Linked DNA regions of Homo sapiens: region 2 is linked to region 1. The links are contacts of gene promoters, found by promoter capture Hi-C in blood cells and fetal thymus (Javierre and others, 2016). All regions are on one chromosome and are shown on one strand. Each heading gives the region's core, a stretch centred on a gene start or on the middle of the fragment in contact. The rest is flanking DNA. Distances are from core to core; before and after follow the strand shown.

Region 1 (3,911 bases), core at 1,412-3,911:
GTTATTTAGTTGTTTGTTCAATAAAATAGGTAAGATGCAATGTAGAGAAAGAGGTCGGCTTTCTGGGGAGGTAAGAAGAAGATGTGGGGAAAACTAGAGCATTTAGGATAATTGATGTATGGTCTGAGATAGAAGTCAAGGGAAGAGTTGTATAAAGGTGAAAAACAAAATTGAATGACACAAAGATACGGAGAAAGAGGAAGGCCAAGAGAGACCATCAGATGCGGAAAGAAGGAGGCCTCCCAGAGTTCTCTCTGGACAGAGGGCTGATGGAAAACGAAAGAGGCAGTGAGAATAAGGAAGAAAGGCACTTGGATGGCTATTTGCCAGCAATATGTGAATGTATCTAACAGCAGATCAAACTTGAAAACAGGCATTTGACTAAATTAATGGATAACACATTCATGGTGAATTGTTAAAAGAGTGTTAAGGAAATCTGGAGACAATTCTAACCATCAAGAAATTGACAGCACAGAGGATAATAATGCTGGCCTAACCTTCATGGTTAGGTACCAAATACTAAATCTATTGCAGTATGATCTGAGGCAAGATGGAAGGTTTTATGATTCCCACATTCACCCAAAAAGTTTCCTTGATTGCAAATGCTGAAAATCTGAGATGCTTTCATTACATTTTATTTATGTTTGTGTGAAACCAGTATATTTTTGTTCTATATGAAAATGTATGTCATAAACATTCAGAAATTCAGAGGAGTTCATCCGAAAGGCTGACATGGTACACCGTGGACCGAAGCCTCTGGGGCAAAATGTTTTCTATGTATCATTCGTTGAGTCTCAGTTTGAAGAAGTACTTACACATTTGTTCTCTTTGTATTTTGCTATCCAAATGTTTGCTCATAAATTCCAATGTAGTAAATAAGGACAGTTTTGAAAGTCAGAAACTCTAAATTTCAAAAAAGCTTTATTTTTCTTTGGGTTTGTTTTCGTATGTAGTCTATTGTAGTCTATGCAGTGAACTTTGTCTTATATGCTTAAAAGGGCACTGATATTTGGTGGGCATTGGGGGGCGGGGAGTTACCTAACCAGTACTGAAAAGTTACTAAACTACCTGACACAGCTGAAACCAGGAAGGAAGGCTGTATCAGGAAGAGACTGAATATAGTCCTTAGGTGGATTTTAGTATTAGGTGACAAATTAGGTTGTATTGGACTGGCACTGTCCAATAGGAATATAATGAGGCTCACAAATGTGAGCCACATGTGTAATTTTACATTTTTAAAAATGCAAACCACATTTTTAAAAGGGGAAAACAAACAGGTGAAATTAACTTTAATAATATATTTTTTATATCCAAAGTATCATTTAACATGCAATCAACATGAAAATCATTAACAAGACATTTTACACGATGTTTTCTGCGCTGTCTTTAAATTCCAGTGTACATTTTACACATCCAGCAGTGGGCAATTCAGACTAACCATAATGCCGAGTGGTCAATAGCCACATGTGGCTAGTGGCTATCATATTAAATAGTGCAGGTTTGAACCAAAAATACTTCGCTTTGGTTGTTTTTTTTTTTTTCTTTTAGACGGAGACTTGCTCTGTCGCCAGGCTGGAGTGCAGTGGCAGATCTCGGTTCACTGCAAGCTCCGCCTCCCGGGTTCAAGTGATTCCCCTGCCTCAGCCTCCCAAGTAGCTGGGACTAAGGCGTGCGCCACCACGCCCGGCTAATTTTTTGTATTTTAGTAGAGACGGGGTTTCACCACGTTGGCCAGGATGGTCTCGATCTCCTGACCTCGTGATGCGCCCGCCTCGGCCTCCCAAAGTGCTGGGATCACAGGCGTGAGCCACCGCGCCCGGCCTGCTTTGGTATTTTTTAAGAGCAAGTTGGTAAATGGAGGCATTATATGGAGAGTGCTCGAGTATATATAGCACAGGTTAGAGCAGCACGCCGGCACCTTGAAGCGAACACGGGCTCCTCCACTCCCGTCAACACTGGGACTTTTCTGTTTTTATCTTGAGTTTGAGGCCGGGCTTCTTAGCAGACCTCAGTCTGAAACTGAAATAAACCTGGACGCAGCGTACCCTTGAATCGCAAGAACGCCGCCTTCAGTGTTTCTCCGGAGAAAAGCATTCACGCCAGGTTGTGACGAAAACATTTTTTGAGAACTCATAATGTTTATTCCTTGGATGAATCCATTATATTTATTTAGTGTCTCAGGAAGGATGATGGGCATATTGCTTGCAAAAGTTGATTTGAATCCTGATAGATTCCACTAACTTTTTTGTCTTTTTTTTTGGCTGCCTTCTTCGAGAATGGTGTCAACCCTTAATAACACCTAGCCTTACGAATCCCTGGGGTGATTCCCGACCTCGCCAGCTTTGTGGGGCTCCCCCGACTTGCCTACATTCCCTGGCAGCCTCGCAGCTTCGGGCAGATGGAGCTTCCGGCCTGCGCGCAGTGGTCGCCTGTCGTCCGCCCGCGCTCCCTTCGGCCGGAGGTCGGCGGCCCCGGGCAGAGCGCGCCGTCTGCCCCAGTATCGGGAGGCCAGTTCCGCGCTGGGCCCACGCCCTCCTCGCCCGCCGCTGCCTGCGCGCCAGGCCGGGTGGCGGAGCCGGCCGTCGCTGCTCCGAGCTCGGACCCTCCCCCGGGGTGATTTCGGCTTAGAAGGTGGAAATGCGGAAGTTTCCAGCGCCGACCGACAGACGAGGTTTGCGCTTGGCTGGGCATGTTCCGCGGCTACTCTGCGGCGCGCCAGGCCCCCGCTTTCCGCACCCCGCGACCCTAGAAGCCACCGAACCGCCGGCGGGCCATGGCCACTCTGCCGAGCGCAGAGCGCCGCGCGTTCGCGCTCAAGATCAACAGGTAAGACGCCCCCCGCGGCGCGCAGGTTGCGGCCGGACAGCCCAGCGCTGGTGTGAAGCGGAGCTTCGCTGCAGGGGCCGAGGCCGGACGAGTCCATTCGCGTCCGCGGCGGGGCGCGCCTGAGACCTGGGGCGCCCGGTTCCCGAGGCTGCGGCGGTGGAGCCGCTGGACGCGCGGCGGCTCCTGCGCTGGGCCCGGCGAGGTCCTCCCCAAGAATCTCGGTGCTCCTGGATGTCCTCAGCCGCCGGGGATCCCTTCCCCGAACAACCTCGCCCGCTCCGCCCTCCAGGTTCTTACAGGTGGCCGGGTCCCAGAAGGGTGATAGGCGCCTGGGTAACCGTGTTGGGCGCGCCACGGAGTGTCTCATAAACGGCTCCTTCCTTTGAGGCAAGTCTGAGCGCGGGGGGAAGAAGTGAAGTGGCTGAAATTAGAGTTGCGTTTGAGGCAGGCTGCAAGCCTTCTGTCGTCCTGAGCAAGGCTCCGTCCTCGCCTGCTTCATTATTCCAGAAAGAGCTTGGCTCCTGGTGGCATCGCTATTTTTATACCCTGGTCCAAAGGAGCCATGAAGTGGAAAAAGTGATTTTTTAAAAAATCTACACTTAAATAAACCAAAAGAAATGGCCTGTGGCTGACATTTTGAGATTTACAGAACTCCAGCAAAAAGCTAAGGACTGGGGGATCCCAACTCACCATCCAATTCCTAATCAAAGTTGCACAAACTAAATATGTAAGCACATTTACTGCTCAAAGTTCTCAGTAAAGGTGCTTTAACTGCAGTTTTTCCTCCACTAAAAACTGCTGACAAGTAATTGGGACATTTTTGTCTTGCCCTGAGAAAGCTAGACTGTCTAGTTAAAAGATAATAGGAAACTCATTCTAAAGTGTCAACTTATTCTATTGCCCACAGGGCTGTCCGATTTGTTAATCTTCACTTAGCTGAGCCTGTGAAAGGTGGATTCCACCGTAGGTTCATCTTTGTGCTGTTAGTGTGTGAAGAGGTTTGAACAAGGAATTAAAAGCCTAGAAAAACAAGGCGATAAGGTCTTCTAGAGGGCATATCGAGCTTTATTGACGATTTTATTTCC
Region 2 (4,631 bases), core at 1,333-3,832, 550 kb after region 1:
CCAGAACTGGTTCCCTGACACATTCTAGACCCTGCTTAAGGACACAGAAGTCTGATTCTGGAGATGCCCTTGCTCTTGAAGACCCAACTGTGCAGTGTTCTGCGTGCCTGAGTCCCACGCCCCAGCCTACCATGGCCACCATGGCGGGTTTGGCCAGTACTCTACAAAGCCCAGAAGCATCAGGCACCTGAGAACCATGCCCTTGTTACATTTAAGTCATGTGACTCACTGACTAGGAAGACAGAAACTTCTAGAAAGAAAGCCAAAGAGAATCCACAGCTGCTTTCTGCAAGCCAGATTTACTTGAAAATGCAAGTGATGAGGCTGTCACTCCCACCCTGAGGATGAGGGGAAGGAGGAGGGAGGCTTTGCTGTCTCCCAGAAAATCAACAAGAACACAGTTTCCAGGCGCTGTGGAGAAAATGTATTATTCGGAAGTCTGAGCTCCAAGAGACTCCTTGTCCTTGCAGTGGGGCCATCTGTGTTCTCTAGGTTGTGGTTTTCGCCGGCAAGTCTAAACACTTCCATTGATCGGTCAACAAGAACAGAACTTATTTACCTGCCACAGTACCTCGGGCTGTAGCTCTGATAAGGGCCCCTCAAGGTGCCCTTCCCAAGCGACCAGCCTGCTTGCTTCTGCTATTTCCTTTTTATTCAGGAATGCCTCATGCTACTAAAATAGCAGACAAGGTTTAAATACACTGCTACTTTGTGTGTCTAGCCATTTTAAAAAATTATTTTCAACCTTACCACCAGTATTAACATCTCCTACATCAGAAGAAAGGTGCCACAGGAATCAGGGTGCTACACAGCATAGGGTTTGGGGGACACACTCCTGTGATACTCCATTGTATTAGGGCTCTCCAGAGGAGCAGAACCAATAGGATATATATAGATGTATAGAAAGTGATCGACTACAAGGGACTGGCATATGCAATTACTGAGGCCAGGAAGTCCTGTGGTCTGCCATCTGTGAGGTGGAGGCCCAGGAAAGCCAGGGGTGTGGCTCCAGCCCAGACCCAAAGGCCTAAGAACCAGGGAAGCCAGTGTCTGAGGGCAGGAGAGGATGGAGGTCCCAGCTCAAGCAGAACGGGAACTCTATCTTCCTACACGTTGTTGTCCTATTCAAGCCCTCCGTAGACTGAATGGTACCCACCCGCAGTGGTGAGGAAAGCCTTCTTTACTCGGTCACCAATTCAAATGCTCATCCCTTTCAGAGACACCCACGCAGAGGTGTGCCAGCTTTCTGGGCATCCCTTGACAGTCAAATTGACACATAAAAGAACCATTATACCTTCTTGTCCAGAAGTCTTTGCAGATAACCGTCCATGAATTCTAATGAAGCCTGGGAACCTATCCAGAGCTGGGGCAAGAAAGGATCCATGCAAGTAGGAAACTAGCAAAACCTGCAGGCTCCAGCATCCTGCCAGTCATCTGCAGACCCCAGAGGGGTCCACAAGCAAGTGCTCAACAACACCGTCCTAGTTACATTCGGGTCATGTGGCTTCTTGACCAGGAAGAGAGAAACCTCTCAAACAAAAGCTAAAGAGAATCCACAGCTGCCTTCTCCAAACCTGTTACAGCTGGAAAAGCAAGTGATGAGGAAATCACATGAGCTCATGCTTGTGAAGCACTCTGTACAAACAGGCACTGTGGAAGCATTCACTATTTTGTTAACGATAAGGTCATTTTTTTCCTCGAGGTCAGGTTGTTCATTCCAGTTTCACTCACTGGCATCTCTCCCCAGAGCACACAGGCACTCACACAAAAATAACTGTCTTCCTAGTTATCCCACAGGTATGGACAATCGCTGGTACGACCATTGGATTGTCCACTGCCTTGCTGAGTTCCAGCAGGCTGCTCTGATGGGGAACAAAAAAAAAAAGCAACCTGTGGGCAGCGAGGAGGTTTTTCTAGGGAATCTGCGTAGACTGTCTTTGTCAAATGTGGGAAGGAAAGGGGTCCTCCCAGGAATTAGGATCTGCTGCGAGGTTGTGCCAGGGCATCCACGCCTGCGTTTCTCTCAGTGTTGGCCTCGCTGATCCCACCATCCCTCCAGGTGCGCTGTAGAACTTCCAAGACTCATTGCCATGAATATGTTAGCTAGGTGGTCGTCAAGTCTACAGGTTCTTCCTCCCCACAGCTCTTGGGTCCACCCTCTTCCACTGCTGCTAACACAGTTCAGGGCACCATCATTTCTTCTGGACTGCTGCAAGGTCATCAGAACTGGTCTCCCCAATGTCAGCCCTGCCGCTTTCAGTACAGTCATGTTATTCCCTGTTGAAAGCCACTCAATGGCTTCAGCTCGGTCTGGCATGATGAAGCTTCCTCCGTAATCTGGGTTCAGCTCCATCACACTCCTCCCACACCTCCAACTGAGCTAAACCAAAATGCCACAGGAGTTCCTGACCTTAAGCCCTTGTGTCACTCACTTTATTATTCATAGTTTGTCCCCAGTGTTGCAACCAAGAGCTGAGGCTCCTTGGGCTCTCTCATTTTTGAACATCAAATGCAGGTCTCCTTTGCCATGCAATGTGACTGTCTGATTCACAAGAGCATGGCCCTGCAAGTGTATGCCAGGTGGCCCTACCCACATCAGCAGATACATTGGCAGACAATCAGGATGGATCAGGACAATCTCTCTGAATACATCCATCCATTTGGAAGGAAGGCAATCAAGATGGAGATTAAAACCAGCTTAACATGGAACTAGAGAGGCAAAACAGCCTCCCTTGTGAGGTTCTGAGTTGTAGAGTAGGAAGGTGGCATGTCCTTGCCTCACTACCCCTTCGTTCCCATTCGGTGGCTGACAGCTTCTGTTTCTCATTTCTTATTAGACTAAAGCTTGACTCTTGCTCTGCTGTTTCTTTTCATTGATGAAGCTTAAATAACCAGTAATCACAGCATGCAAAATAGTGTGCACCAGACTTCATATAGTTAAAGTGAGAGTCTTCATTTTTGAAAATATGCTCCAGGCAACTTTGGAAAAAGCAGAATTACTTCCTCTTGTAGGCCACTGGACAGACCCTACTTCGTCCTAAAGTAAGGTGAAGGCCAAAAGACGGGCTTCCAGGGCCAACTACACTACACCTACCTTTTGCCTTAACTTTATTCACTTGTGGGCAACATCAAAAGATGAGCCTATTTTGGGGCCGGCCGCAGTGGCTCACGCCTGTAATCCCAGCACTTTGGAAGGCCGAGGCGGGTGGATCACGAGGTCAGGAGATCGAGACCATCCCGGCTAACACGGTGAAACCCCATCTCTACTAAAAATACAAAAAATTAGCCGGGCGTGGTGGCTCACGCTTGTAGTCCCAGCTACTCGGGAGGCTGAGGAAGGAGAATGGCGTGAACCCAGGAAGCGGAGCTTGCAGGGAGCCGAGATTGCACCAGCGCACTCCAGCTTGGGCGACAGAGCGATACCCCGTCTCAAAAATAAATAAATAAAAAATAAAAAATAAAAATGGAAAGAGAACTACTTCTTTCAAAAACTAGGTGGAGGTCGGACACAGTGGCTCACGCCCGTAATCATAGCACTTTGGGAGGCCAAGGCAGGCGGATCACTCGAGATCAGGAGTTCGAGACCAGCCTGGCCAACATGGCGAAACTCCCTCTCTACTGAAAATACAAAAAAAATGAGCTGGGCATGGTGGTGGGCGCCTGTAATCCCAGCTGTTCCGGAATCTGAGGCAGGAGAATCGCGTGAGCTGAGGAGGCAGAGGTTGCAGTAAGTGGAGAGGGCACCACTGCACTCCAGCCTGGGCGACAGAGTAAAATAAAAGTAATTTTAAAAACTAAGTGGAAATTAAATGAAATTTAATATTAAATGTTTCCAAATAAAACATTATAATTTATTAAAATCCTTTTTAAAAAACTTTAAAAATCTTTTTGAAAAAAACTTTCTAAAAAGCAATTTAAAGGGAATCTTTGCCTTTTACAGTATTGAGTCCACTGCTCTTTTCCTTTCCTCTTTCGTTCTTTAATTCCTTCATGTCTCGCAATAAAGGAAGAAACACGTACAGTTTGGGCATATATCTAGTTGCACATATCCTGGCCCTAGTGTAAAAGACCACAGGGTTTACAGGAGCGCGTAGCCTTTTCTTAATTTAAAAGAATACAGGACGCAGGAGAGAACCACACCCCGCAGACCCAGGCGTAGCGAGTTGTCTGCCCTGTGGCACTCTGTCACCTAGTGTCTGAATCTGCATATTGCACTCTCCTCGATATCCCTTGGTCTGCGAAGGATGAAGTTCCTTCCACCATACGGCCACCGCCATCACCATCACCTTACGACCAACCCCAATGCTCTGCAATGGAGAACAAGCGCCACCATGTTGCAGGGTTCCAGAAAGCAGCAGCTCTGGAACCAGACAGACCTAACTTAGACTCCTAGCTTCCCGTTTACCAGCCGAGACTTTGAGCAAGGGACTTTACCTTTTTAAGCCCTAGTTTCTACATCTATAGAATATGGATGGTAAAAATGCCTGTCTCTAGACTTGTAACCACTGAGCTTCTAGAAAGCCAAATGGGTATGATGTTATAAACATTAAATGAAATATCACAGATAAAGTGCCTGCAAAGCATAGATCAGGCTGGGTGCAGTGGCTCAGGCCTATAATCTCAGCACTTTG

Evidence for each region. The method cuts DNA at HindIII sites, captures the fragments that hold promoters and counts their contacts. A CHiCAGO score of 5 or more calls a contact.
Region 2: a contact is called between a fragment that was not itself captured here and the fragment with the promoter of DOCK8 in region 1, in 1 of 17 cell types (M0 macrophages). The highest score is 5.7, in M0 macrophages.

The regions. Positions count from the first base shown.
Region 1 is chr9:212,204-216,114 of GRCh38, forward strand. It overlaps DOCK8 (dedicator of cytokinesis 8), which reads left to right and starts at 2,662. Exons shown (of 48, transcript NM_203447.4): 1 at 2,662-2,826. The coding sequence starts at 2,774. DOCK8-AS1 (DOCK8 antisense RNA 1) reads right to left here and starts at 3,547. Exons shown (of 1, transcript NR_160804.1): 1 at 1,254-3,547. RefSeq lists silencers at 2,417-2,666, 2,677-2,726, 2,777-2,826, 2,997-3,136. The HindIII fragment of the contact is 3,855 bases long and covers 918-3,911 here.
Region 2 is chr9:760,005-764,635 of GRCh38, forward strand. LOC124902109 (a long non-coding RNA gene) reads right to left here and starts at 1,377. Exons shown (of 4, transcript XR_007061394.1): 1 at 1,295-1,377. RefSeq lists a silencer at 1,425-1,719. The HindIII fragment of the contact is 520 bases long and covers 2,323-2,842 here.